5 separate regions of the Homo sapiens genome follow, and regions 1, 2, 3 and 5 are each linked to region 4. Evidence: promoter capture Hi-C in 16 types of primary human blood cells and fetal thymus (Javierre and others, 2016). All regions are on one chromosome and are shown on one strand. Each heading gives the region's core, a stretch centred on a gene start or on the middle of the fragment in contact. The rest is flanking DNA. Distances are from core to core; before and after follow the strand shown.

Region 1 (5,657 bases), core at 867-3,366, 110 kb before region 4:
TCCTCAGCAGGGGAGGCCCTGCAGGTGAAGGTGGGGTGGGGTTGGAGTAACAGGTGAGGGGCAAGCTCTGGAAGGAGAGGGAAGTGGGTGTCACGGAGGAGGGTGGGGTGGTGGGGGGAGTTTCATGCAGGAGCAAGGTCAGACCTAGGAGATGGGCGTGGAGGCTGCGCTCACAGATCAGGGCCCCAGGGGAAACAGGGCTGGGGACCGGCTCACCGAGGCGCAGGTGCCGTGGCTGCCACAGTAGGCTGAGCACTCCTGCAGGCCACAGTCAGGACCCCCCCAGCCCGGCTCGCAGGCACACACACCCGGTGGCTGGCACTGCCCGTGGCTCTGGCAGCCACCCGGGCACAGGGAGAAGCGGAATGAGGCGTTAAAGCCCAGCAGGTTGTAGTTGGCATCACTGAAGAGGTGCAGCAGCATCTGCGGGCACAAGGTGTGCTGGGTAAGGTGGGCAGGGCCTGGGGATTGTCCTGGGAGGGTGGCCCACTCCTGCCCCCTTCCACCCTGGGGGACCCAGAGCCTCATCTCCTTCCTTTGCCTCTCTCCACCTTCCCTTGTCCCTGTGCTCTGCTCTTGGATGCCCTCTTACTGACTCTCTGTCCCTCCTTTCTTCTTCCATTTCCCTCGGTGTATCTGCCACGGCCCCATCCCCACTAACCTTGCCTGAGGAAGCTTCGATGGGCGGAGGTCGGGTGCTCCCACTTAGACTGGCAAGCAGCGGCCCTCGCGGGGAGTCACCGTCATACACGAACAGGTAGTCATACGTGCACTCTGTGTCCAGGAAAAGGAAGTCCAGCAGGATCCGGTGCTGGGGGCTTGGGGCTGGGAGGTGAGCACAGAGGGACCAAGCTCTAAAGCGGACCTTCTCCCCACACCTCCCTGCAGCCTCCCACAATTGTACACCAAACCCTGATCCAGGTGATGCTGGGGGCTCAAGAATGAGTCAGACCTGGGCCCCGCCTTGAAGGGGCCCCCAGTCTCATAACCTAGGGCAGTCAAGGGCTGTGACAGCCAGAGGGACAGGAGCCCAGAGAAAGAATCATAATATTCCAGACCTCTAGAAAGGTCACCTGAGATCAGAATGAACACTCCCACCATTCAGATGGGAAAATTAAGTACAGAGAAAACCCCATCCCAGTGGCCACACAGAGCAGAATCCAGTGTTCCTGATGCCTCTCTCTTCCTGTCCATGCCTGAGTTTCAGACATGTCCAGGCTGGAGGGTCAAGGTCATAATCCCAGTGAGAAGAGCACCTCCGTGACACCACCCCTGGCCCACGCTGAATAGAGCTGCAAGAGAAGAGTCCAGCTTCTTCCCCCAGAACAGAGGCCTAACCTTGGAGCGGCATAGTTCCCCTCTGTCCCCATCCAGAGTCTCACCTCTGCTTATTGTGATGGTTACAAGCACAAACTCTGGAACCAGACTGCCTGAGCTTATGTCTTGGCTCTGCCACCAAATAGCTACCAGCTGTGTGATCTTGGCCAAGTAACCCACCCCCTCTGGATCGGTCTCCTCATCTCTAAAGTGGGATATAGTGGTACTGTGGTGGAATCAAACTTATAGGCCACTCCTGCCATTGAAAGTTAATTCCCTGCCTCTCGTATCTGGGAAGAGCCTTAGTGACTTGCTTGACCAATAAAAAAACAGCAGAAATTCTGAAACTTCCAAGGCTAGATCATAAGAAGACTTGTACTTTTCACCTGGGCCTCGTAGAATGCTCCTTCTCAGAACACAGCTGTCATGATAGGAAAAGCCAAAGCCGGCTGGGCACGGTGGCTCACACCTGTAATCCCAGCACTTTGAGAGGCCAAGGCAGGCGGATCACGAGGACAGGAGTTTGAGACCAGCCTAGCCAACATGGCGAAACCCCGTCTCTACTAAAAATACAAAAATTAGCTGGGCATGGTGGCGGGTGCCTGTAATCCCAGCTACTTGGGAGGCTGAGGCAGGAGAATTGCTTGAACCTGGGAGGCAGAGGTTGCAGTGAGCCGAGATTGTGCCATTGCACTCTAGCCTGGGGGACAAGAGCGAGACTTCGTCTCAAAAAAAAAAACAAAGAAAAGCCAAAGCCACAAGAAAAGGCCACACACAGGCATTCCGGCTGACAGTCCCAACTGAGCTTCCAGCTGACAGCCAGCATCAACTGCCAGCCCTGGGAGGGACCTTCCTGGATGTCCAGCCAAGGTGAACATTCAGCTGACTGCAGCCCCAGCTGACATCTGACTGCAACCTCATGAGGAGCAATAATGCACACGAAATGGTGACAACAGAGTGGGGTGGGTGGCTCACGCCTGTAATCCCAGCACTTTTGAGAGGCCAGGGCAGGTGGATCACCTGAGGTCAGGAGTTCCAGAACAGCCTGGCCAACATGGTGAAACCCTGTCTCTTACTAAAAAAAAATACAAAAATTAGCCAGGCATGGTGGTGCAAGTCCCAGCTACTCAGGAGGCTGAGGCAGGAGAATTGCTTGAACCCGGGAGGCAGAGGTTGCAGTGAGCCAAGATTGCACCACTGCACTCCAGCCTGGGCGACAGAGGGGACTCAAAAAAAAAAAAGAGGCTGGGTGCCGTGGGTCACGCCTATAATCCCAGCACTTTGGGAGGCCAAGGTGGGTGGATCGCTTGAGGTCAAGAGTTCGAGACCAGCCTGGCCAACATGGTGAAACCCCGTCTCTACTAAAAATACAAAAAATTAGCTGGATATGGTGGCACATGCTTGTAATCCCAGCTATTTGGGAGGCTGAGGCAGGAGAATTCTTGAACCCGGGAGGCAGAGGTTACAGTGAGCTGAGATCATGCCATTGCACTCCAGCCTGGGCGACAAGAGTGAAACTCTGTTTCAAAAAAAAAAAAAAGAAATGTTGACAATGGGGCCCACATATCGTGGAGAGTGCCACTACCCCTAACACTGTCACTGTCTTATTCTCTGCCAGTCCTAGTTCAGGTAGCCTCTCTCATTCCACATCCCACATGAGAAGCCTTCTGAACAGGCAGCTCAGGGGAGTCCTCTGGGTGAGGGAAATTAGGAGGCCTAGGCTCTGGCTCTGGCTCTGGCTCTGCCCATGACCAGCTGGAGGACCCTGGGCCAGCCCTTTCCCCCATGACCCTCAGTGTGCCTATCTGGATCCTGGAGACACTCAGCCACCACTGCCAATGGCTGGGTGATCCTGGGCCAGTTCCATGGGCTCTCTGAGCCTTAGTTTCCATGACTGTAAAATGGGGATAATTCCCCCCACCCACAAAGGCTGGGGTGAACATTCAACGAGGTGATGACTCCAGCCTGCCAGCTTAGAGCCAGAGTGTGCCCTGGCTGCCCGGCCTCATCCTGTCTCACCAGAACCACTGATCCAACCTCCTTCTTCCCCTGACATGAGTCTCTGATCTTCCCAACTCAACATCTGGCCCCGTCCCTCCCCTGCCCCAAAGCCCTGCATGGCTCCCTACCACCCTAGGAGAAAGTCCAGGTCCCTAACCTGCTGTTCAGACCCTCGCTTTGTCTCAAATCACCCCACTGCTTACAGCTCTAATGGGAGCTGGGCCTTTGTACAAGCTTCTCCCTCTGTCTGCAACATATTATCCCTTCCCACCACCAGGCCTCTTCCTGATGCCCCCTAGCTGGGTTAGATGCCCCCTCTCCAGGGTTCTCACATCCCATTATAACCTTCATTCCTCTGGGCCAGGAACATCTATGTCCAGGTCTGTCTCCCTGCAGCCTACAAGGCCCATAGAGCAGGGCCTGGATGTGGACCTAATTCCCTCTGCAGCATTGCCCAGACCCGGGCTTGGCAAAGGCTCAGGAAATGCTGGATGATGAAATGAAGAAATACATAAAAGACAGAATACTAAAGCTGGAAGCTCTCCCTCAGGCTCTAACCAGAGCCCCCAAGACATCAGACACAGACCCCACCCATGCTTTGGGGAATGCAGAAGAACCATTCAGCACGGCCACACAACCAGACCTCCCAGAATCTTACCAGCCTCAACCAAACTATAAAGCTCTGTTTCTGGAATCACAAGTACATCTTTGTTAAGTGCCTGCTGGAGGCCAGCTCACCATCTGCCTCCCCAAGTTCTTCCCTAAGTTGAAGGTCTTCTGTTTCCACCCAACCCCCATACCACTCCAGACAGAAATCTGATCCCAAACTCCCTCCTGCTCAAAAGCAGGATGCCTCTTATCCATGAGGATGTTATAAGGACTAGGACTGGGCTGGGCGTGGTGGCTCACGTCTGTAATCCCAGGGCAGATCATTTGAGGCCAGGAGTTTGAGACCAGCCTGGCCAACATAGAGAAACACCATCTCTACTAAAAATACAAAAATTAGCCCGGCATGGTGGCACATGCCTGTAATCCCAGCTACTCAGGAAACCAAGGAACAAGAATCACTTGAACCTGGGAAGCAGAAGCTGCAGTGAGCCGAGATCAAGCCACTGCACTCCAGCCTGGGCAACAGAGCAAGATTCTCTCTCGGAAAAAAAAAGTCTAGGACTAGATAAAGTATGAACATAATACAAAAGTTAGTAGGTTGGTTGTTTATCTTTTTTTTTTTTTTTTCCCTGAGACAGGGTCTCGCTCTGCTGCCCAGGCTGGAGTATAGCAGCGCAATCTCGGCTCACTGAGACCTCAGCCTCCTAGGCTCAAGGGATCTGCCCACCTCAGCCTCGCCGGTAGCTGGAGCTATAGGCACATGCCACCACCCACCAAGCCCAGCTAATCTTTTGTAATTTTTTTGTAGAGACAGTGTCTTACCATGTTGTTCAGGCTAGTCTCTAACTCCTGGGCTCGAGTAATCCTTGCATCTCAGATTCCCAAAGTGCTGGGATTACAGGCATGTGCCACTGCCCCTGGCTGGTTGTTTATTTTATAATAGATAGAGGAAGATGTTGGTTCTTATAGGTAAGAAGTGACAGGCATTGGTAAGAACAGAAGATCATCAAGGGGGATCTGGAGGTCTCCCAGCCTCCTCCCTCACCCCAACATCTACCCAGTTGGTCCCCAAGTCTTATAGGTGAAACTCCACAAACATCGATTGCACTGTCTACACCTCTCCACCCCTCTAAGCCCCTGCCCTAGTTAGGAACTCATCCTCTCTTGCCAGATCAGCTCATCAAGTCTCCAGTCTGCCCCACACCCAACCTGAGGGCAATGCCCTACTCCTGCTCAAAACCTCCTGTGGCTGCCCATCAACCCCAAGGGGAAGGCCAGGCTGCTCAGTGTGACATTCAAGGCCCCTCTTCCCCTGCTTCTGGCTCTCATTACCTCCCAGTCAAAAGTGCCATAAGACCAGGCAAACCTAGATGGGGATCCTGAGACACTCCAGCCACCCTCACGTCTTCATAGAGGCTGTTTGCTCCCTTTTCCCACTCAATAAACTCCTATGCATGCTTCAGAACCCTATTTTAGTGGCTCCTGCTCTGTTATCTGCAGCACAGTCCTCTTTCCTCCCTAGGTACATCCACCCCACCCCTCCACTTTCCTTCTTAGCCCTGAGCACTGTCTCAGTGAACACACTGGGGGCTGAATATCTGTGTCCAGCCCCACCATTCCCAACCAGTCTGAGACGTTTTTTCTTTTTTTTTGAGGTAGAGTCTCGCTCTGTCACCCAGGCTGGAACCACAGATGTGCGCCACCACGCAGGGCTAATTTTTGTAGTTTTA
Region 2 (5,451 bases), core at 2,479-4,978, 71 kb after region 4:
CAGCCCTCTCCACCCCCTCCCCTGCCATTCCCCCCACCGCAGGATCAGCATCGTCCATCACCAAGACCCCCTCCTCTTCCTCCTCATCCATGTCAGCCGCAGTGCCCGCACATCTTCAATAATCCACCAAGCCTTCCACCCCCCATCTAGGCCTCTGTGCTCCCTTCCCTAACCCCAAACCTGCAGAGGAGCAGAAAGGTGGCCATGGGATGGGTGGTCTTGGGGGGCACAGGGATGGGTAGGAGGAGGTACAGGAGGGTGTTGGGGTCACCAGGCAGGGAGACGATGGCCACAGGTTGAGGGAGGCATTGGCCAAAGTCAGGATAGCCAAAGCCTGTCCCTCAGCAGCCAGCAGGGGACAAGAACAGGTAGGGTGTCTGTGGGGACCAGGCACTGAAGAGGGGAGACAGACTGCAGCCTCTCTGCCCCTGGTTACAGCACTTCAGCTCTCAGTCCCCCAGGGCCTGTCTCTGCCCCTTCCACACTGAACTTGGCCCTTTTCTTTGGGAGGCAGCTGGGTGCAGGAAAAGAGAGAGGGCCGGGAGCTGGACACCTTCCCATGTGTCAGTCTCAGCTCTGCCCGGAGCAGCCCCTTCAGGGATGGGGACGACACCACACACCCTGCTGGACTGCTGGTGTGAGGGGCAGGGGAGAGGGTGTTGGGAAGCAATTTACAGGAGGCCCTTGTGGCCCCACCTCTGCTTGCTCTTCCCCCTCCCTCCCTCTTTCTTTTCTCTCCTGTTTTCTTTGTCTCTCTTTCTGCTGTTCTCTCTCTCTACCTCTTTATCTGCATCTTCCTGTCTCTGTCTCTCTATTTGACTCTGACTCTCTTTCCTTTATTGCTGCCTCTCCCTCCAGGGATTTAAAAACCCCCATACACTTCTCTGTTCTACCTTGATAGTCCCCAGTTACTCTTTCCTTACACCCCTCTTTTCTCTGCCCTGCTGTATGCTTTTCACTCTGTCTTTTTCTACCCTGCCTGCGCCCCACATCCCTTGTCTAGCCCCATCTCTCTTGGTTCATCTCCCCTCCCACAGCCATAGAAAGAAGTGGAGGCTCAGGTCCTTGGAACATCAGCAGAACACGCAGAAAAAGGGTCTTAAGCCCCTCTTCTTTCTCTTGGCAGTGTCAGTGTCTAGGGAAGTTCAAACAAGTCTACACTCGCAGAGATGGAGCTGGGAACTGAGGGGTGGGGCCCATCTGTCTGCCACAGACGCGCTGTGTGGCTTTGCTCAAGTCATGCTGGCCCTGAGCCTTGGTTTCCCCTGAAAAGCGAGCTACTCCAAGGGTGTTTACGGCCTCCCCTGTGGATTATGTTGCCTTGAAAGCCCAGGGTCCTCTGTCTCCTAGGGAGGGAGTTGAGGGCAGGATCTTCAGGCTGGGGAACATGGTCGCCCCTCCTCTCTCCTTCTCATGGTGGCTTGGGAAGGTGAAGCTGCAGACGTGGGCAGGTCTAGGGTGCCAAGATTTTTCCTCTCGGTCTGGGTGGGAGCGAGGCCCAACCAGGGTCATGCTTTAAGGAACATGGGGCGTGGATTCAAGACGCCTGGGTCCATGTCCATTGTCAGCTCCCCAGAGCAGGGGCCGTGACATCACTGGTGTCTGGTTCATTGCTTGCCACACAGACAGGATTCAAGGGACATTTGTGGAGCAAGTGAGGAAGAACCCGTGCAACAGTAGAGGCTGGGGTGGGGTGGGGTGGGGAGGAGCAAGTCCTGAGTGGGAGGCACAGCCGGAGGAGCAGAGGGATTCAGACATCTTTGGGTTGAATTGAGGGGAAGTTGACAGATGGGGGCATTTGGAGGATGAGGAGGATCTCAGGATGACCCTGGGTGTCCTTTCCAAGCCTCTCTCCTTCACCTAGGACCAGTCACCTCCACCCAACACCAACAAGGTCTACATTAGTGCAGCTTTCACAGTTCCCCACCTCTGGCCTCACAGCTACCTGGTTTGCGGAGGGGAGTGAGGATCTCTGTGTTAGAGAGATCCCTCTGATGTGGGAAGACGGCATTTGTGTTTCAAAGGCGTGTACAGACCCACGTATTTACCCACATGCTATATGCTTGCTTATGCCTGAAACAGTGCTTACTTTTCACTAGTTATGAATTTTTTGGCATTACCGTCAAACAAAAGTTTTCCAATTAGTACAAGGCCTTCCTAATAGAAGACAGAAAGGTCCCTCTGGGCCATGTGGGAAAGGCCAGGATGTGAGCACAAGAACCAGGTGTCAGCTGGGGCAGGGCTGGGTGGGTCTTGGGGTGGAGATGAGGTTGGCAGGATCAGCTGAGGAGTATGAGATTCAGGCCAAGACCAGGAAACCTGGAAAGAGGTGAGGGCTTTGGGGGCGAAGGATGAAGAGGGGGGCAAGAGATCAGGGGATGCTTCTCCTGCAATGACCATTTTGCCTGCCTCAGTGTGAGGGGTACAAATCCCGGCTCTTCCATGGACTCACCATGACACCCTGGGAAGGGGGCTTCTCCTGTCTGAGCCTTATTTCCTCCTCTGGGTCATAACTACTACCTCATAGGGGTCAGGGAAAGGGGAAATACAAAACACAATGTCACCTGATAAATGGCCATGCCCTTTCCTGTTGCTCTTCTCTCTGACTCCTGCCCATCCTCTAGGTTCCAGGTCTTTAAGCTTTTGTATTTGCAGAGGATTTTTTCCCAACGCACTGTCAATATTCATTGACTATTTGGATCCTCACCACTATCTTGTAAAGGAGGAATTATTATCTTGATTTTACAGAAGTGGAAACTGAGGCTTCGAAGACTTAAGTACTCTGCCTCAGGTGCTTGTCCCTATGCAGGATCCATTTAAGTCATTCATTCCACCTGTCTGTTGAGCACCCACTATGTGCCCAGCGTTTGTTGGGCACTAAAGATGTAGCAGGCAGCAGAACCAGCATGGTGTATTTTCATGGAGTTGACAACTAGAGAAGATGCAGATCTTTAAGTGTAAACATCAATCAAATACAAAATCAGGAACTGATAAGTCTATCCCAAAGAATAAACTAGAATAGGGAGCCAGGAGAGAGGGCAAGTTATTTAAGCCAAACCTTAAAAGACGAGTAGGATTTAATGGGGCAAAGAGCACAGGAACAGTGTTCCAGGCAGAGGGAATGGCACATGCGAAGGGCCTGGGGTTGCAAAGAGCATGGTTTAAAGAACAGAGAGGAGACAGCATGGCTTGGAGCAGGGTAGGCAAAGAGGTGAGTGATGGGGGAAGAGATGAGAGGTGTCAGCAGGGGTGAGATGACATAGGACTTTATAGGTTGGGTTAAGGTGATTGAGTTTTATTCCCAAATGCATGGGAAGCTCCTGGAGAATCTTAAGCAAGGGAGTGACACCACCTGGTTACGTTTTAGAAAGACCCCCTTTGGGGGCCAAGGGGAGACGAGACTATCTGAGACAGGCATGGAAGAAGGGACACCTTCGGGGAGGAGACCACTGAAGTCACTCAGGCCAGAGGTGGTGGTGGCCTGGACTGCAGTGGGAGGAGTGGAGGAATCAGACAGCGCTTTTGGAATTGGTGACAATATCAAGGCTCAAAGAAGTGGAGAGCAGAGAGTGAGAGTCTGACCCTTCCAAACCTGAGCTTTTCCTCTTACCAGGTCAGGTGCTACTTTTTCCCTAGGAGGCTGCAGGAAGCCTCCATGAGGCAGATGCCTGGGTTGCTTATATTTAATGTTCTCCATGTGAACCCTAAAGTGCCTGGTTGGCACTGAGAAGTTTCTTGCCAGACCGGGATCTTGCACAGATGTGAATGGGGGGGCCTTCCCTTAGGAGACTCCACAGAGGAGGTGAGCTCTGAGTAAGGTGGTGTAGGGAGCGAGTAGATTTGAAGGTGTTGGCTCCCCTCACAGCTGGTCTTTCTGTATGAGCTCGGAGAATCTGCTAGGGCCCCACAAAGTGGAGCTGGGGAGCATTGTGCAATCTGCATCCCAGAATTGTTGTGAATCAAGGTGGGCAGGTGATGTGAAGGCACTCAGTGAATGGTTCATATTGGCAGAAGGCCATAACTGGGGACGGGGATGGGAGATACATGGATGTCTCAGACAGCAAAGCCCAGGTCCAAGGCCAGTGTTTCTGCTGAGCCAATGGGACAGGGTGGGCAAGGGTTTGAGGGAGAGGAAGAGAACAGTGGATGGCAATGTGGACTTTGGAGTCCGGTTTCCTGGGTGCCAATCCTGGTTCCATCTGTGTCTCCAGCCAAGTGATTTAACTTTGCTGGGCATCAGTGTTTTCCTCTGTAAAATGGGGATGTTAACAATGCTTTTTTGTAGAGTATTGAGAAGATTCAGTGAGAAAATGCTTCTAAATATTAATAGTAGGTGGAGGGCTTCTCTTTAACTTGTCTAAAGCAGAACTCTTTTTTTTCTTTTTTTTTTTTTTTTTTTTGAGACGGAGTCTCGCTCTGTCACCCAGGCTGGAGTGCAGTGGCGCGATCTCGGCTCATTGCAAGCTCCACCTCCTGGGAAGCAGAACTCTTTTTTTTTTGAGACAGAGTCTCGCTTTGTCACCCAGGCTGGAGTGCAGTGGCGCAATCTCAGCTCACTGCAACCTCCGCCTCCCGGGTTTAAGTGATTCTTCTGCCTCAGCCTCCCGAGTAGCTGGGATTACAGGTGTGTGCCACCATGCCCAGCTAATTTTGGTATTTTTAGTAGAGACGGATTTCACTGTGTTGGTCAGGCTGGTCTCGAACTCCTGACCTCAAGCAATCCACCTGCCTTGGCCTCCCAGAGTGCTGGGATTACAGGCATGAGCCACTGCACCCAGCCTAAAGCAGAACTCTTGATTCCCTCTCCCAAGCTTTTCCAAGAGCTTGTGTCCATCTCAGTAAATGGTTGTCACAACAACAACCTAGACTTCTTCCTTGATCCCTCACTTTCCTTCAAATGTCCAGAGCTCAGAGTTTGCTTCAACGATGACAGGCACTGTGTCTCATGCGATCTGGGCTAATACAGTTCCGTTAAGTTAAACTCCTCTGAATCAATGTAGAGCACCTTCTGTAGGCAGGGCCCTCTGTGGATGCTGCTCAGGGTCCGCACAGTTCTGAGAGAGGCACAGAGAGGCTGAGTGGTTTGCTCAAAGTTGCACAGCTAGGACTCAGCAGTCTTTGCAGAGGCTGAGAGAGGCCAAGGCAGCTTCTAATTCTTGAGCCTCCTAGTGTACTAAGAACGAAGGAATACTGAAATGGATTTACAGACCTGTGCTTTTAGCAATGACAACAATAAAATGCCACGTTAACTGATATTTATAAGGTCATTTCAGGATTTATTAAAACAAAATGCATACTATCTTACTGGTGGTGTGGTCTGGCAGTGTCATTCAACTATAAAGTAAAAAATACACATTTTGTTTTAATTTCATCCCCTCAGGAATGTGACACATGGGCCAAGTGACACATAGGCCACACCTAGCCCCACAGCTGGGACTTAACTACCTATTT
Region 3 (5,543 bases), core at 3,044-5,543, 84 kb before region 4:
GAGGTGGGCGGATCACGAGGTCAGGAGATCAAGACCATCCTGGCTAACACGGTGAAACCCCGTCTCTACTAAAAATACAAAAAATTAGCCGGGCGTGGTGGCGGGCGCCTGTAGTCCTAACTACTCGGGAGGCTGAGGCAGGAGAATGGCGTGAACCCGGGAGGCGGAGCTTGCAGTGAGCCGAGATGCATTTCAGCCTGGGCGACAGAGCGAGACTCCGTCTCTAAATAAATAAATAAGCTGGGCGCAGTGGCTCTTGCCTGTGGGCCCAGCTACTTGGGAGGCTGATGCAGGAGGATCACTTAAGCCTAGGAGGTGGAGGCAGCAGTGAGCCATGATCACGCCCGCCTGAGGGAGACGGCAAGACCCTGTAAAAGAACAAAAATTAGGCCACATGCATTGGCTCACGACTGTATATTCAGCGACTCAGCAGGCTGGGGCAGGAGAATTGCTTGAACCTGGGAAGTGGAGGATGCAGTGAGCCGAGATCACACCACTGCATTCCAGCCTGGGTGACAGAGAAAGACTCCATCTCAAAAAAAAGTTAGTGTAGTGTTGTGATTCATAGCTAGGCTTGGTTTAAATGCCCAAAATGGCACAACTGGGCTGTGTGACCTTGGAAATGTTTGTAACTGGTCAGACTTAGTTTTCTGACCTGTAAAATTGGGTTGGTAATAAAACTACCTTCCTCATTTGGTTGCTAGAAGGATAAACTAGACCAATATGTCTAACTTGAAATGGGCCTGGTGAATGAAGAATGCCTGGAAGCTTTGTTTCTCACTAAGCTTTGCTTCAGGAACTGCTCCAACTTATCCTCTAAGACTTTATTTTTAAAAATTTTTTTCTCGGTTGGGTATGGTGGCTCACGCCTGTAATCCCAGCACTTTGGGAGGCCAAGGCAGGTAGATCACGAGGTCAGGAGATCGAGACCATCCTGGCTAACACAGTGAAACCTCTTCTCTATTAAAAATACAAAAAATTAGCCGGGCGTGGTGGCACACGCCTGTAGTCCCAGCTACTCAGGAGGCTGAGGCAGGAGAATCGCTTGAACCTGGGAGGCAGAGGTTGCAGTGAGCCGAGATCGCGCCATTGCAGTCCAGCCTAGGCGACAGAGCGAGACTCTATCAAAAAAAAAAAAAATTCTCTCTTATATCACTGACTTGAAGGCATAATTAAGACTTTTTTCTTTTCTTTTCTTTTCTTTCCTTTTCTTTTTGAGATGGAATTTAAATCTGTCACTGAGGCTGGAGTGCAGTGGCACAGTCTGAACTCACTGCAACCTCCACCTCCCGGGTTCAAGCGATTCTCCTGCCTCAGCCTCCCAGGTAGCTGGGACTACAGGCGCAGACCACCTTGCCCAGCTAATCTTTGTATTTTTTAATAGAGATGGGGTTTTGCTATGTTGGTCAGACTGGTCTTGAACTCCTGACGCCAAGTGATCTGCCCACCTCAGCCTCCCAAAGTGCTGGGATTATAGGAGTGAGCCACCGTGCCTAGCTGATTATGACTTCTTTTTTGGAGACAGGGACTCACTCTGTCACCCAACCTGGAGTGCAGTGACACCATCATGGGCCACTGCCACCTCATCTCCCAGGCTCAAGCTATCCTCCTGCCTCAGCCTCCCAACTAACTGGGACTACAGGCACTTGCCCTTTTTTTTTTTTTTTTTTTTTTTGAGACGGCGTCTCGCTCTGTCTCCCAGGCTGAAGTGCACTGGTGCCATCTCGGCTCACTGCAAGCTCTGCCTCCCAGGTTCACGCTATTCTCCTGCCTCAGCCTCCCAAGTAGCTGGGACAACAGGCGCCTGCCACCACGCCCCGCTAATTTTTTGTATTTTTAGTAGAGACGGGGTTTCACCGTGTTAGCCAGGATGGTCTCGATCCTGACCTCGTGATCTGCCCACCTCGGCCTCCCAAAGTGCTGGGATTACAGGCGTGAGCCACCGCGCCCAGCCTTTTTTTTTTTTTTTTTTTAGACAGGGTCTCACTGTGTTACCCAGGCTGGTCTCAAACTTCTGGGTTCAAGCGATCCTCGCACCTCAGCCTCCCCAGTAGCTGGGACTACAGGCATGCATCACTGCACCTGGCTCCCTCAGACTTTATTTGTTTGTTTATTTTTGTAATTAAGACAGAGTCTCGCTGTGTCACCCAAGCTGGGCCACTGTTGCCCAGGCTGGGCTGCAGTGGCGCGATCTCAGCTCACTGCAACCTCTGCCTCCCAGACTCAAGCAATTGTCCTGCCTCAGCCTTCCCAAGTAGCTGGGACTACGGGCGTGTGCTGCCATGCCTAGCTAATTTTTTTTTTTTTTTTGTATATTTAGTAGACACGTGGTTTCGCCATGTTGGCCAGGCTGGTTGACCTCAAGTGATCCGACCATGTCAGCCTCCCAAAGTGCTGGGATTACAGGCATGAGCCTCCATGCTGGCCTCCCTCAGACTTTAAAATCAAGCTATTCCACGATATTCCCCAAACCTAATAAGAAAGTGATTACCTGTGTCTTTTCTTTCTGCTTGCCCATTCTTCATTATCTTTCAGACCCAGCTGAGATACTACTCCTAGGAAACCCATAGTCCTCAGAGTCCTTCTCCTCTTCCTCCCCAGAGGTCCCTGTCTCTCCCTCAAACACAACTTTGACACCCCTACACCTCTGTGTCTGGATCTGTCTCCCTAAACACATTGGGACAAGGTCAGGAGCTGACCCACTCATTTACTACTCATTCAGCAAGCACTTGTGGAATAACCACTGTGTGCCCGGCCCAGTTCCAGGAAAGTGGATTGAAAACATAAACACAATGAATAACACTCATCTCTGTCTCAGTATCAATCCACCTCGAAGGAATGAATACATGGGAAGGTCCCACCTGGAGTGAGGCTACAAGAACATGACCAGGACGTTTAGCAGGGAGTGAGCCCCCCACCTGGTCCCAGAGAAGAGGGAGATCTGAGAAGACACTGAGGTCTGAGATTAATTTGGGGCAGCGTTGGGGGAGAGGCGCGACCCTAGGTGGCCTTGGCTATGGATGTAGGTTTCAGAGCTCAGACATACCCAGTTGGCCTGTGGGTTTAGAGAGAGTGTAGAGGCTGCAGATCTGCAAGATGATCTGCCGGAGGGACGCCAGACTGGACCTGAGCCCTGGAGGCGTCTCTAATTTCCTTTCTCTTTCTGCACCTTCTTCTACCCTCCAAGCAGGTCCTATGGTGTCTTGAATGCAAAGATATGTAGTTTATATGTTATGCCACGCGCGCGCACACACACACGGTGTTTTGAGTAGGGGTCCTGTGATGTCTTGAATGCAAAGATATGTACTTTAGATTTCAACACACACACACACACACACACACACACACACACACACACACCCACGGTGTTTTGAGTAGGGGAAGCCCACGAGTAGATAGGCTCACTAAAGCCCTGGCGCGGCCTTAGAGTGGCTCCTTAGAAGGGAGCCTCGAATTTTCACATTTTGTCATCTTCCTTTTCTGTCCCCCACATCAGTAGAAAATAGGAGCGTCCCCCCCAGCCAGGTGCATTCGAGCCACCCCTTCAAGGGAATATAAGAATGGACTCGTCCACTCGCTCCCCTCCCCCCACCACGTGAATGGGTCACCCCCCCCCCCGCAACAGTAGGTGGTCCCTTCCGCACATTTCACTCTGTACAGCAAATGGTTTCTTCCCATTTGCTAGACAGAGGGCTAGATTTTCCCCGCCCACTCTCGACTCTTCAGGTAGTTCGCCCCTCCCCGTGACCGGTGGGTGGTTTCTCCCTCCTCCCCGCCTCGGGAGCTGGATGGTCTCGCCTCTCCCTCCCCCCACCCCGTGCCGGGTGCGCGGCCTGGGAGTCAGCGGCCCGAGCGGGAAGCGCCGGGCGAGCCCACTGTGCGGCCGTCGTGGGGGAAGCGAAGGTTCCTGATTCCACCTACCTCCTAAGTGAAGGCTTCCGTCCCTGGAGAGGAGGCGGCGCCCTGTATCGGCCTTCGTCCTCCGCGGGTGTGCTAGCGTTGGGACGGTCCTTTGTTGCCGCGAGGGGTAGGAGTGGGCGTGGCGGAGCCAGCTCCGTTCGGAACACTCCCGGGCCGACCCGACTCGCTCATCCTGCAGGAGCTGCGGCGCCAAGATGAGTGGAGAGGAGAACCCAGCCAGCAAGCCCACGCCGGTGCAGGACGTACAGGGCGACGGGCGCTGGATGTCCCTGGTGAGCGTTCCCACCTGGGATATTGAGGAGTCCGGGGGCGCGGGGGGTGGCTCAGGAGAACGGCTGGTTCGTGCCACTCTCACTACCTGATTGGGAAACTGAGGGCAGTTGAGGAGGCGCTGCCTAAGGGAGCAGGGCGGGGCGGGCCCTGGAGCGTGCATGCCATTGACTCCCTCTCGCGCGCTCCCGCAGCACCATCGGTTCGTGGCTGACAGCAAAGATAAGGAACCCGAAGTCGTCTTCATCGGGGACTCCTTGGTCCAGCTCATGCACCAGTGCGAGGTGAGGGCAGTCCCTCTCCCCCTGCCCCATCCAGCCCTGTGTCCATGCTGACACATCTGGACCAGAACCCAGGCCAGGTGAGGTATTATGAGAGTACCCAGATTGGCCTCAGGCAGCCCGAGGCTCTGAGAATCTTGGTGTAAGGTGCAACATTCTATTGAGAAAGAAATGTATGCCTTGGTTTTATCAGATTGGATTTGTGTATAATGTACTAAGACCTAAAATGAGGCTTTCCTGCCATAGGCTTGCCTAAAGTGAGGCTCTTTCTTGTTTGCTTTAAGTAGTGCGCAGCCCTGTTGGGTTTACACAAAGCTATAGTCACTTTACAGGAAGCGAAGGGCAACTCTAATGGCACTCCACAAAGAGGACTCAATCATAATAATATCTTTCCACAAAGCATGTCCAACTGTAATGGGTTTCATCAAAATAAGTTTCAACTGTAATGCCATTGATTCAATGCATGGCTCAAGCAGACTGGATTTTCATGAAGTGAGTCTTGCTTCTATGGGGCTTGGTTTGTTTTGTTGGTTGGTTGGTTGGTTGGTTGGTTTTTGAGACAGGGTCTTGCTCTGTCACCCAGGCTGGCGTGCAGTGGTATGATCTCTGTTCACTGCAACCTCTGCCTCCTGGGCTCAAGTGATCCTCCCACCTTAGTCTCCGAGTAGCTGGGACTACAGGTGCACATCACCATGCACCTGGCTAATTTTTGTAATTTTTGTAGAGATGGGGTTTTGCCCTGTTGCGCAGGTTGGTCTTGAACTCCTGGGCTCAAGCAGTCCGCCCACCTCAGCATGAGCAACAGAGCCTGGGGCTTGGTTTAAAGTGAGAGACTCTAGGCAGGGTGTGGTGGCTTACGCCTGTAATCCCAGCACTTTGGGAGGCCAAGGCAGGCGGATGACCTGAGGCCAGGAGTTCGAGACCACCCTGGCCAACATGGCGAAATCCTGTCTCTACTAAAAATACAAAAATTAGCTGGGCATGGTGGCACATGCCTATAGTCCCAGCTACTTGGCAGGCTGAGGCAGGAGAATCGCCAGAACCTGGGAAGCAGAGATTGCAATGAGCCGA
Region 4 (5,925 bases), core at 1,017-3,516:
TCCGGGCCTCTGTTTTACTGGTGTGAAGTGAGCTTGAGTCACAGCCACCTCAAAGATTGTTTAGGGGATTGGATGATATCACACATGCACAGCGCTCATACACTGTAGGCGCCCACTACAACCCACTTAGCAAGACAGAATCCTTCACAGTTTGTTAAATTGCTTTCCTATTCTCCCTACTCTTCGTTTGATTTAATGATAGTCACTTACCAGGCCCCCTTGTGAGTTTAGCCCAGGACTATGCTTCCGTAGCTTACCATTGCCATCCATTTGTTTCACAAGTAGGGAAACTGAGGCCCAGAGAGGGGAAGGGATTTCTTGGAGGGTTTGTTTGTTTGTTTGAGACGGAGTCTCACTCTGTCGCCCAGACTGGAGTGCAGTGGCACGATCTTGGCTCACTGCAACCTCCGCCTCCCGGGTTCAACCGATTCTCCTGCCTTAGCCTCCCGAGTAGTTGGGATTACAGGTGTCCACCACCACGCCCGGCTAATGTTTGTATTTTTTAGTAGAGACGGGGTTTTGCCATATTGGTCAGGCTGCTCTCGAACTCCTGATCTCAGGTGATCCACCCGTCTCGGCCTCCCAAAGTGCTGGGATTACAGGCGTGAACCACCGCGTCCGGTCTTGTTTGTTTGTTTGAGACAGAGTTTTGCTATTGTTGCCCGGACTGGAGTGCAATGGCGCAATCTCGGCTCACGGCAACCTCCGCCTCCAGGGTTCAAGCGATTCTCCTGCGTCAGCCTCCCGAGTAGCTGGGATTACAGGCATGCGTCAGCACGCCCGGCTAATTTTGTATTTTTAGTAGAGATGGGGTTTCTCCATGTTGGTCAGACTGGTCTCGAACTCCCGACCTCAGGTGATCCGCCCGCCTCGGCCTCCCAAAGTGCTGGGAATGCAGGCGTGAGCCACCGCACCTGGCGTTTGTTTGTTTCTTGAGACAAAGTCTCGCCCTGTGGCCCAGGCTGGAGTGCAGTGGCACTATCTCTGCTTACTGCTCCCTGGTTCAAGAGATTCTCTTGTCTCAGCCTCCCAAGTAGTTGGGATTTCAGGCGCGTGCCACCACATCCGGCTAAGAACAGACAGGGTTTCATCATGTTGGCCAGGCTGGTCTCGAACTCCTGGCCTCGTGTGATCCGCCCACCTCGGCTTCTCAAAGTGCTGGGATTACAGACGTGAGCTACCGCGCGCAGCCGATTCTTTTGAATTCACTGCTACAGCTCAGGCAGAGCCAGTACTGGGCCAGTGCTAGGCAGGACCCAGATCTCCCGACTCCCAAGAGGAGTTAATTGCGGGGGTGGGAAGAGGTCCAGGGAGGGGACTTGTCTCAAGTACATGCAGGTCCTGACCTTGAGTCACCTAAGTGGGGGGCGTGGCGACCGTCACACCCAAGGCCCCGCGGTAAGGGGACACGCATACACCACAGCCTAGACTCCCTGACAGACCCTCTCTAGTTGTTGCAAGTTAGGGAGCGGGTATCTGGGCGACCCTGGAGGGCAGAGATTGGAAGGGGTTACGGAGGGGCCGTTTTGGCTCTGGGTGGAGACATCTGACTGTGATGGGGGTCGTGATGGACGCCATCGAGATGTACACAGTCGGAATGGAGGGTTCTGTTGCCGCTTGGAAGGAGGTATCCGTCCTGAACGTGAGATGAGGGAATTCTGGTTTTGATCAGGGGAAGGAACTTATAGACTGCGGGGGTGGTGGTGGGGGGGCGGGATTTCCATTTGGGATCACGAGAGAGCACAGTTGAGATGTAGATCCCTGGTTGTCACTAGAAGTGAGGGACAATCTAATGGAGGAGTGCCCAGGACCAGATCATATAAGGCCTGGGAGTTTACTGGGAGACGGGAAAGTAGTGATTGTGTTACTTTGCCACGGGCAACTAGGGGCAGTGGTGATGTGGGCGTCTAGCTCGTGATCAGGAGGGGGCTGTAGTTTATGAGATGAGTAGTTACAACTACTCGTGACGTGGCGCTACATGGCCCCGGTGGCTTGAGTCACGGGCAGGAAGTAGGGACCTGGAACCGGGTACCAGATACAGCCCAAGAGGCGGCGTGCTCTCGCTCTGCGCAAGCGCAGCACTCGCGAACCAAGATGCTTCGGTTGGGGGCAGGTCAAGCGGCCCAGGAAGGGCGGGGCTTGGAGGCCTCGTTCTGCGCATGCGCCGAAGGGGCGTGGCGGTCGCACCTGCGCGAGTTGGGGGAAGGAGGAGGGGCGAGGTGACGCAGGCGTAATAATAGAGAAGGTGCCAGAAAGATCCAAAACAAGTGGCTGCGGCCGTCGCCCAGGAGTCATCGGACGCCAGAATCTGGTGAGGATCCAGAGAGGCCTAATGGTGACTGGTGGCGGGTAGACAGGACCACCTGGGCTCTGGGGAGCGGGCGGGGCCGCCCTTGCAGGGCGAGGGGGTCGGGTTCGGACGGTACCACCTGTGTGGAGCAAAGGGGCTGCCTGGGTCGCTCCTCTGTGTAGGGGGCAGAGGGTCACTTTCGGGAGGTACCACTTGCGTAGAGCCGGGGGACTCATCAGACGGTACCGCTGGACGGAGAAAAGGGGCTCGTCTGGGCAGTCCTACCCAGAGTCAGGGGCAGTCAGCAGGGAGCCCCGGGGTGGGCCCCGAGGCTTGTTTGGGCCGCATCGTTTGGTCAGGTCCGGAGGCGAGCTCCGAACGTAGCACGGTGGTGGGGGCAGAAGCCGAGCGGGCTCCGGCGTCCCGACCTGTTCTTAGGGGACCTCGGGCGGGACCATTCCCTCCCGGGGGAGGGGGAGGCCGAGGCGGTTGGGGGTGCGGGAGCGGCCCTGCCCGGCGCGATTGGGCGGGGGAGACGCGCTGGCGGTGTGGGGTTCGGGCCTCCGCGTCGCTGACCACTGCCCCCTCCCCGCTGTGTGGGTTCTAGGCCGGGTTCTGAGCTTGTTCCGCCTCCCTCCCCCGGGAATGGCGCTATCCGGGTCGACCCCGGCCCCGTGCTGGGAGGAGGATGAGTGCCTGGACTACTACGGGATGCTGTCGCTTCACCGTATGTTCGAGGTGGTGGGCGGGCAACTGACCGAGTGCGAGCTGGAGCTCCTGGCCTTTCTGCTGGATGAGGCTCCTGGCGCCGCCGGAGGCTTAGCCCGGGCCCGCAGCGGCCTAGAGCTCCTGCTGGAGCTGGAGCGCCGCGGGCAGTGCGACGAGAGCAACCTGCGGCTGCTGGGGCAACTCCTGCGCGTGCTGGCCCGCCACGACCTGCTGCCGCACCTGGCGCGCAAGCGGCGCCGGCCAGGTACGGTTGAATGGGAGGGTGTCACACTTCCTGGGAGGAAAGGGCCTGGCTCCCGCTGGGCCTCCCTGGTGCCCTGATACGGACAGTGCCATATCAGGCAGCTTATGTCCCATTCTGCTACTCTCTCTTCCCACAATATCAATGAGCAACATAAGAGGAAGAAAGCATGGCTTTGGGAATTTGGCCACATCAGTGATGATGATTTTGGCCACTGTTTACGGAGGGCTTGTTTCATGCCAGGCACAGCTGTCAGCCCTTCATATGAACTAGTGCCTTATAGTCTCCCAGTAATCTCACAAGGAAGTCCTGTTACTGTCTTCACTGTAACCAAGAAAATAACAAGTTCAGAGAAGTTAAGCAGTTTGCACGTATAATAACAATCCTGTTTGCTGGGCCTAGGAGGGATACAGGATGATGGAGCTGACAAGGTGTTTGTTCCATGAAGTTTAAGTTTAGTGGGGGCAATCAGATAATAAGAGAACTTATTTTTAGACGCTGTTGTAGGAAGACTAAAAGTAATGGAATAGAGAGAGTCAGGAGAGCAGCAAGGTGAAGGGAGGCTTTGCCCTGAGGCTGCACTGCCAGCCATGCATAGACCCCAGGGGAGAAAATCCCAGGGAGCATCCAAGGCCTGAGGTGGGAATGAGTTTGGCATCATCAGAGGCCAGTGTGGCAGGAGCAGAGGGGACCCAAGCTAGGGAAGAGAGGGAGGTAAGAAGTTATGTCATGAAGGGGCTTGCAGAGAACGTAGCTGGGAAGTGTGGGAGCCAGGATTCAAACCTAGCCAACTTGTCCCCAGAGTTGATGCCCTTAATCCTTGTGAAGGAAGTGCTCCTGGAGGATAGCAGCCTTCACATGAGAAGCTGGGAGGGGTTCAGGCTGCCGGTAGCCGTGTGCATGAATAGACCAAGCCTTTGTCTGGGTTACTAAAGGGGCAGTGGCTAGTTTGGGGAGGGGGGATTATGGCCTTCCCTGACCCAGAGTAAGCCCACAGGATTTAGATAAGCAGGAGAAGGACAGCTCTAGGGAAGAGCTGACAGCATTTTTGGATATCTATGTCTGAAGATCACGCTCTAGAAGAGAAGATTTGGGGAGCCTGCACAGAGGCCTGCTTACTCCTTGGGGAGAGCTGGGGGCAGTTGATGCCAGGGCAAAGGGCCATTACAGGGACCCTTACCATGACTATCAACAGAATAACCTTGACAGTTTGAGCTGCCGTAGACGTGGGTTAGATTGCCCCAAGTCGTGATAAGTTCTCTCTCTTAGGAGGCATCTGAGCAACCTCTGCAGGAGGTGTTTGAGAATGAGTGGGTATTTGGGCTCTGACTACTGGGGAACTTAGGCACCTCGTGGTGCAGGCATTCTTCCAGGGGTGGGAATTAGGGCCAGGAGGCTGAATGCTTCTTCCTGTTCTTCTCTTCCTCCAGTGTCTCCAGAACGCTATAGCTATGGCACCTCCAGCTCTTCAAAGAGGACAGAGGGTAGCTGCCGTCGCCGTCGGCAGTCAAGCAGTTCTGCAAATTCTCAGCAGGGTCAGTGGGAGACAGGTGAGCCCAGCTGGGTGGGTGTAATGGCAGCATCCCTCTTTTCCTTATGAATTGTGCCCATCAAGGAAGGGGCCTGAGGGGTTATTCTGTCTCATTTTCACTGTGTGTGTGTGTGTGTGTGTGTGTGTGTGTTTATTGCTACAGATACTCTGTTCTGAAGCAACATACAGAATTGTTGCACATAGTTTCGTGTTTCGTTTAAATGGCATTACATTGTGGGTATTACTCTGCACCTGGCTGTCTTTGCTAGATGTGTCTGAGATTTATTCATGCTGAGTATCTCTAATTGTATTATTTTAATTGCCATGCCCCAATTAACTTATTTATTCTCACCACCCCCAGTTTTTGTTTTTTTCTGTTTGGCTTTTTCAAGATAGGGGCTTGGTCTGTCACCCAGGCTGGAGTGCAGTGATGAAATCATAGCTCTCTGCGGCCTTGAACTCCTGGGCTCAAGCTGTCCTTCCACCTCAGCCTCTCAAGTAACTAGAACTACAGGGGTATGCCACCATGCCTGGCTAATTTTTTCATCCTTTATAGAGGTGTGGTCTCCCCCTTGTTGTCCAGGCTGGTCTTGAACTCCTAGCCTCAAGCAGTCCTCCCACCTCAGCCTCCCAAAGTGCTGGATTACAGGCATGAGCCATCATGCCAGCCACCTCTAGTTGTTGTTGTTGTTTTGAGGCAGAATCTCATTCTGTCACTCAGGCTTCGGTGCAGTGGTGCAATCTCGGCTCACTGCAACCTCTGCCACCCAGATTCAAGCAATTCTCCTGCCTCAGCCTCCCAAGTAGCTGGAACTACAGGCGCATGACACCATGCCTGGCTAATTTTTTTGTATTTTTAGTAGAGATGAGGTTTCACCATGTTGCCCAAGCTGGTCTCGAACTCCTGGCCTCAAGAGATCTGCCCACCTGGGCCTCCGAAAGTGTTGGGATTACAGGCTTGAGCCACTGCGCCCTGGCCACCCCTCTTTTTATTATGTGAAATTTCAAACATACAAGTTGAAAGATTAGTACAGTTAACATCTTCCACTTAGGTTCAATAATTGTTAAGATTTTGCTACTTTTGCTTTATGTGTATACGTAATTCTGGATTTTTTTGTTGAACCCTTTGAAAGT
Region 5 (5,322 bases), core at 277-2,776, 130 kb after region 4:
GTGTGTCTGTAATCCCAGCTACTCGGGAGGCTGAGGCAGGAGAATCACTTGAATCCGGGAGGAGGAGGTTGCAGTGAACTGAGATCACACCACTGCACTCTAGCCTGGTGACAGAGTGAGATTCCATCTCAAAAAAAAAAAAAAAAAAAATATATATATATATATATATATACACACACACATAATATATATATGCATAATATATATACACATAATATATATACACATAAAACAACACGTTGCCCCTCCCCAGGCTAGAAAATAGTAAGTGGAGATTTATAAAGTAGTAAGTGCTTGCCTGGCACTGTACTAAACTCTTTCTAAACTGCATTGACTGACTTAATTCTCAAACTCATTTTATGAGATAGGGTCTATTATTATCCCCATTTTCCAGACAAGGGATCTGAAGGTCAGAGAGGTTAAGGCACTCACCCAAGGGCACCACTGGGATGAGACAGAGCCAGGAGTTTCTACCCCAGCAGTCTGGCTGAGTCTGGGCCCTCAGCCCCTGCCAGGTTGCCCATCCCTCAGATGTGGCAGTGTGCCTGGCACCCTTCGCCCCTCCCCAGCCCCTAGAGGGAGCCATAGGGCTTTGTCTCCTGGGCACCCCCGTTTCTAGTCGGTAAAAAAGTGGTTCAGGGCAGGGAGTGTAGAGTGCCAGGGCTCAGCAGGAAGCACCTGCTCTGACTTCCATTGTTATGACAGGGGTCACCATGGCAGAGGCACAGGGAAATGACTCTGGGAAGAGAGGGCAGGGAGGTCTAAGGCTGTTCTGACTGAGGAGATGCTGCGTGAGCTGGGCGGGAGGACAAGTAGGAGCTGACCCCAGGTTCCTCAGTGGGGGACGAGTGGAAGCTGAAGACCCCATCTTTCTGTCTCTCTCTGGCAGTTACTACCTTATCCTCAGCTGTGGGGACGCTCCACCCCAGCCGGACAGCTGGAGGGGGTGGGGGCGGGGGCGGGGCTGCGCCCCCCCTCAATTCCATCCCCTCTGTCACTCCCCCACCCCCGGCCACCACCAACAGCACAAACCCCAGCCCTCAAGGCAGCCACTCGGCTATCGGCTTGTCAGGCCTGAACCCCAGCACGGGGTAAGTGGGTGCACGTGGGAAGCTGTGGGGAGAAGCAGGGTCGCTGCTGCTTCTAGGGTGGGGAGCGGCACCCCAGTTATGTTGGCAGGTCCCTGCCCCTGCTAATGCCTCTGCTTTGCCTCTTGCAGAAGCACAATGGTGGGGTTGAGCTCCGGGCTGAGTCCAGCCCTCATGAGCAACAACCCTTTGGCCACTATCCAAGGTGCGTGCTGCCTCATGTCACACCCATCGTCACCAGCCCTATCCTCTGGGGCCTCGAGCCCTGCCATTGCTGCTCCAGCCATGCCATCCTGCCCCTGCTCACTGCATTGCTTGCCTCTTCATACCCATCTCACCTTTGGGGAAGGTGTGAGGGGTGCTGATGGGGGTCAGTGGGACCGATGGGGAGATGGGGGGCACTCTGGGCAGGATGCTGGAAGGCAAAGGTCTCCCCTGGCCCGGCATGCCCTTAGCCCAGCCTCTCTCTCTCCCCGCCAGCCCTGGCCTCTGGTGGAACCCTGCCCCTTACCAGCCTTGATGGCAGCGGGAATCTGGTGCTGGGGGCAGCCGGTGCAGCCCCGGGGAGCCCTGGCCTGGTGACCTCGCCGCTCTTCTTGAATCATGCTGGGCTGCCCCTGCTCAGCACCCCGCCTGGTGTGGGCCTGGTCTCAGCAGCGGCTGCGGCTGTGGCAGCCTCCATCTCCAGCAAGTCTCCTGGCCTCTCCTCCTCATCCTCTTCATCCTCATCCTCCTCCTCCTCCACTTGCAGCGAGACGGCAGCACAGACCCCTGGAGGTCCAGGGGGGCCCGAGGCAGGGTCCAAACCTGAGTGAGGGCCAGCCATGCCTCCCCTCCCATTCCTCTGGTCCCTGCCTTGGTCCCTTGCCTGGGAAGAGGGCGAGGAGGCCAGTGGTGGGGACGCAGAGGGTCCTCAGAGCAGGAGTGACAAGGGAGGAAAGACCAAAAAAACAACCAACCAAAAAAAAAAAAAAAAAGGAAAGAAACTAACCAACAAAAGAGAAAACCAAAAATAATCACAACAGAAACCAGCTGCCCCAAAGGAACCAGAGGTGAAAAACAAACAAAAAAAAACCAAAAACAAACCAAAAAAAAAAAAAACCCACAAAATCAAACAAACCAAAAAACCAGTCGCGAGCCAGACCTCAGCGTGCTCACCCTCACTGCTACGACGCCAAATAAAAACCCCAGCCAGGGGCGGAGAAGCCTCCAGCAGGTCAGACCTCATGCCACCGAGCCCTGGCTGTGGGACCAACCCCCAACCCTGCCTCCCCCGTGGGGGCTACAGAAGGAAAAAGAGAAGATGCCAGCTTCCTAATCCCAGCCCCCAGCCCTGGGCCAGCGAAGACAGGGCACAGCCTGGGCAGATGGGCTGGGGCTTAGCACCACCCACCAAATGTTCTTTTCCAGAAGGTGAAAGAGAAAGGGCCTGAACAACCTTACACCAAATATTCAGTAGCTTCATCCAAAGGATGTACAGAATTTTTAGCATTGTGCTCAACAGAATGTGTCCCTACCATGTGTCCCCTTCTCCCCTGGCCCCCAGCTCTCCCCACCTGGGCAGGGGGTCTTGCTTTAACCTCCTCCCTCCCCCCAGCAGGGGAGAGTTCAAGGGAAGGCCTGCGGACAACTTTTCATCCCCTGTTCCTCCCTCTTTTCCCCTTTGAAGGGTGGGCTAGGCCATTTTGCCAAGTTCTAGCTCTCACAAGTCCCTCCTCAACCCTGTCACCCTCCTCTGCTCTGGAACTGACTCCCTCCCCAGCCTATGGGAAGGTGGAAATTTCAGGCAAGAGGGGATGAAGACATTCAGTTGAGGGCATTCAGTTGTCTTTTTCCATCCTGTCTGTTTCCCTGAAAAAAAAAAAAATTCATATTCCAGTGCCTATCCGTGGGATCCTTCACGTTCTTTGACATTAACCAGAAACCAAAAAGAGAACTCACCTCGCTTTTCCCACCCTGTGCCCCTCTGGTACTGGCGAATGCCTCTCCCTCCCCCCACATGCACGCACGCACACACCCCAGTGGTGGGGTTCCTCGAGATGGCATCCCCATCAGGGTCCATGTGGTGGGGACAGTGCCACAGCCTGTGGTCCCCATCTGAGAGGGCGCGGTGGTGGCCACCACTCCCACAAGACCTCCACAACTCTTGGCTGGACCCTGTGTTTGACCAGCCCCGGACACGTCTCCACTGACGACGGACAGAGGAGAGACACCACTGGGAGCCACCCTGCCCTCCTGCTATTGTGGAGGCCAACAAAGTTTTGAACCGAAAACCAAAAAAACAGAAACAAACAAACAATAAATTTAAACTAGAAAAAAAATTTATATATATATATAAACATATATATATATATATATATAAAAGGGAAAGAAGATGAGGACTCTTCAAGAATAAGATGGAACCGCGAGGCGGAGCCAAGCCCCTGCACCGGTGGTCCAGGCCCTTGTTCCCCAAGGCGGATGGAAGGACGGATGCTTCTTTCTCTTCACAAATACCTCATGGACGTTGTCTTTGGGAAAGCCGGAGGGGGCGGCTGGGGCAGGGCCTGTCCCTCGGCCAGGGCAGATGGAAGCGGGTGGGCGGGGCTGAGAGAGGGTATCAGGGACAGGGGTGAAGAGCCCCAAACTCCCCTCCCAAATCAACTGAAAAAGCTTTAAAAAAAGACAGGAAAAAAAGGAGTAAGAAAGCAAAAAGAACAGATGAAGGAAAACTTAACAACTTTTGGGTGGTTTGATTCCTCCTTTGATTTCTTTTTCGGTTCTCTTTTGTCTGACCTCTCTCCTCCCCTCCTTCCTCTCTCCTCCCCTCCTTCCTCTCTCCTCTCCTCCTTCCTGTCTCCTCTCTCTCCCTTTGCTCTCCTCTCTTCTCTCTCAATCTTGTTCTTTCTGTGTCTCTCCTCAAACCAAAGTGTTGCAGTGAAGGACACGAGCCATTGAAATCAGGGTGGGGCCTGACAGCCGTAGTGTGGCCCCTGCCCCTTGTTGGGCAGGAGCAGAGAGAGAGGAGAGCCCTGAGACCGCAGGGCTTTGGCCTGGGCAGCTTCCACTTTCTGCCGGACACTCTGAGGAGAGGCAGATGGAGCTCCAGGCCTCAGCGTTCTCTTTTTTCCTTGTCTCCCTTCTCCCACCCGGGAAATGAAACTGTTGGGCTGGGCGACGGAGGCAGCAGAGACTCGGCCATTGCAGGGGCCTCTGGGTGCCTTGTCCGGGCAGTGGTGAAGTAGCCGCCCCTCCCACCCCGGCACGATGGGGCCTGGCACCTCGTCTACCCAACCTCACCGGAATGTAAGCATCTCCGCTGAACGACTCCCTGCCCTTACCCTACCTCTGAGTTTGTCCATGTTTATTTCCTGAAGAGAGAAGGGACTGGCAAGAGGGCTTGGGCCCCAGCCCAAGGGTGGAGAGGGGGCCAAGGGCTCCTGACCAAATAGGAAGGACATTTGAGCAGAGCAAAATGAAAGGAATTACAACCAAAAACCCCCTCCGAGAAGACAGGCAGCATGGAAGGCATGGTGGAGATGACTCAAACAAAAACTATGATTCTAGACCAAAAAGGAAAAAAAAAAAAAAAAAAGGAAAGAAAATCCAGGACTCACCACCACCCACTTCATCCTGCTTCCTCCCCATCAAGTCCCACCACCTGGGACCTCTCCCCACCCCAGTATGTGGGAGTGGGGTAAAGAGGAGAGGAGGAGCAGGGGGCAGGGATGGGGCAGATGCCCTGATGTTGGTGGAGGGACCCCTGTGCAGCCGGGGGTGCTGGGGACCCTCCCCATCCAACCCTCACACCTAGGAAAAGAAAAACAAGAAAAAAAAATTCCTGGGAGGGGGAAAAATAACCAAATCCCAAGCTTTAACTACAGCTGTGAAACCAAATATTGGGAAGGGGGTAGGAGGGAGGGAGGGGCAGGTGAGCCCCAGGTCTCCCCCTGGGCCCCCCTCCCCTGAGGACTCGAGATAAGGCACCAAATACCTCATAGAACTTTAATGTTAAAAAAAGGAAACCAAATATCGTTGGCTGGGGGCCAGCCAGGGCAAGGGGCTGGGGGGCTGGAGGGAGCCAGGGTTGGGAAGGTGATGGGGGAATTCATGCCCCCCACCCCCATCTGCCCCTTACACTCTGGTCCCCCGTCTCGACTCCGGGAAACAAAACTATCTCATCGTTTTTATTTTGTGGTCTGTACAGAGCCTGTGTCCGTGTGTCTGTGTATGAGCGAGAGAGTTGGAGGGCTGG

What was found. The method cuts DNA at HindIII sites, captures the fragments that hold promoters and counts their contacts. A CHiCAGO score of 5 or more calls a contact.
Region 1: a contact is called between a fragment that was not itself captured here and the fragment with the promoter of DEDD2 in region 4, in 5 of 17 cell types (neutrophils, fetal thymus, monocytes and 2 more). The highest score is 6.3, in neutrophils.
Region 2: a contact is called between a fragment that was not itself captured here and the fragment with the promoter of DEDD2 in region 4, in 3 of 17 cell types (monocytes, total B cells and fetal thymus). The highest score is 5.8, in monocytes.
Region 3: a contact is called between the fragment with the promoter of PRR19 here and the fragment with the promoter of DEDD2 in region 4, in 12 of 17 cell types (total CD8 T cells, total B cells, naive CD4 T cells and 9 more). The highest score is 12.0, in total CD8 T cells.
Region 5: a contact is called between a fragment that was not itself captured here and the fragment with the promoter of DEDD2 in region 4, in 3 of 17 cell types (total B cells, non-activated CD4 T cells and monocytes). The highest score is 6.0, in total B cells.

Annotation. Positions count from the first base shown.
Region 1 is chr19:42,328,773-42,334,429 of GRCh38, reverse strand. It overlaps MEGF8 (multiple EGF like domains 8), which reads right to left. Exons shown (of 42, transcript NM_001271938.2): 2 at 662-825; 3 at 217-423. Among named protein-coding and RNA genes, the nearest start is that of MEGF8, 6.0 kb to the right of the region's middle. The HindIII fragment of the contact is 2,877 bases long and covers 678-3,554 here.
Region 2 is chr19:42,144,982-42,150,432 of GRCh38, reverse strand. It overlaps a transcript of POU2F2 not described here. Among named protein-coding and RNA genes, the nearest start is that of POU2F2-AS2, 4.8 kb to the left of the region's middle. RefSeq lists enhancers at 1-400, 401-901. The HindIII fragment of the contact is 2,171 bases long and covers 2,643-4,813 here.
Region 3 is chr19:42,300,882-42,306,424 of GRCh38, reverse strand. It overlaps PRR19 (proline rich 19), which reads right to left and starts at 4,293. Exons shown (of 3, transcript NM_199285.3): 1 at 3,922-4,293. PAFAH1B3 (platelet activating factor acetylhydrolase 1b catalytic subunit 3) reads left to right here and starts at 3,801. Exons shown (of 5, transcript NM_002573.4): 1 at 3,801-4,193; 2 at 4,386-4,475. The coding sequence starts at 4,116. RefSeq lists a silencer at 3,687-3,906 and enhancers at 3,460-4,114, 4,067-4,196, 4,277-4,326. The HindIII fragment of the contact is 26,667 bases long and covers 788-5,543 here.
Region 4 is chr19:42,214,018-42,219,942 of GRCh38, reverse strand. DEDD2 (death effector domain containing 2) reads left to right here and starts at 2,266. Exons shown (of 5, transcript NM_133328.4): 1 at 2,266-2,311; 2 at 2,898-3,263; 3 at 4,691-4,810. The coding sequence starts at 2,936. RefSeq lists enhancers at 155-1,030, 1,031-1,907 and silencers at 2,679-2,778, 2,789-2,848, 2,930-3,135. The HindIII fragment of the contact is 12,709 bases long and covers 1-5,925 here.
Region 5 is chr19:42,087,838-42,093,159 of GRCh38, reverse strand. It overlaps POU2F2 (POU class 2 homeobox 2), which reads left to right. Exons shown (of 15, transcript NM_001394376.1): 13 at 890-1,091; 14 at 1,220-1,293; 15 at 1,569-5,322. The coding sequence ends at 1,903. Among named protein-coding and RNA genes, the nearest start is that of ZNF574, 14 kb to the right of the region's middle. The HindIII fragment of the contact is 4,433 bases long and covers 1-3,742 here.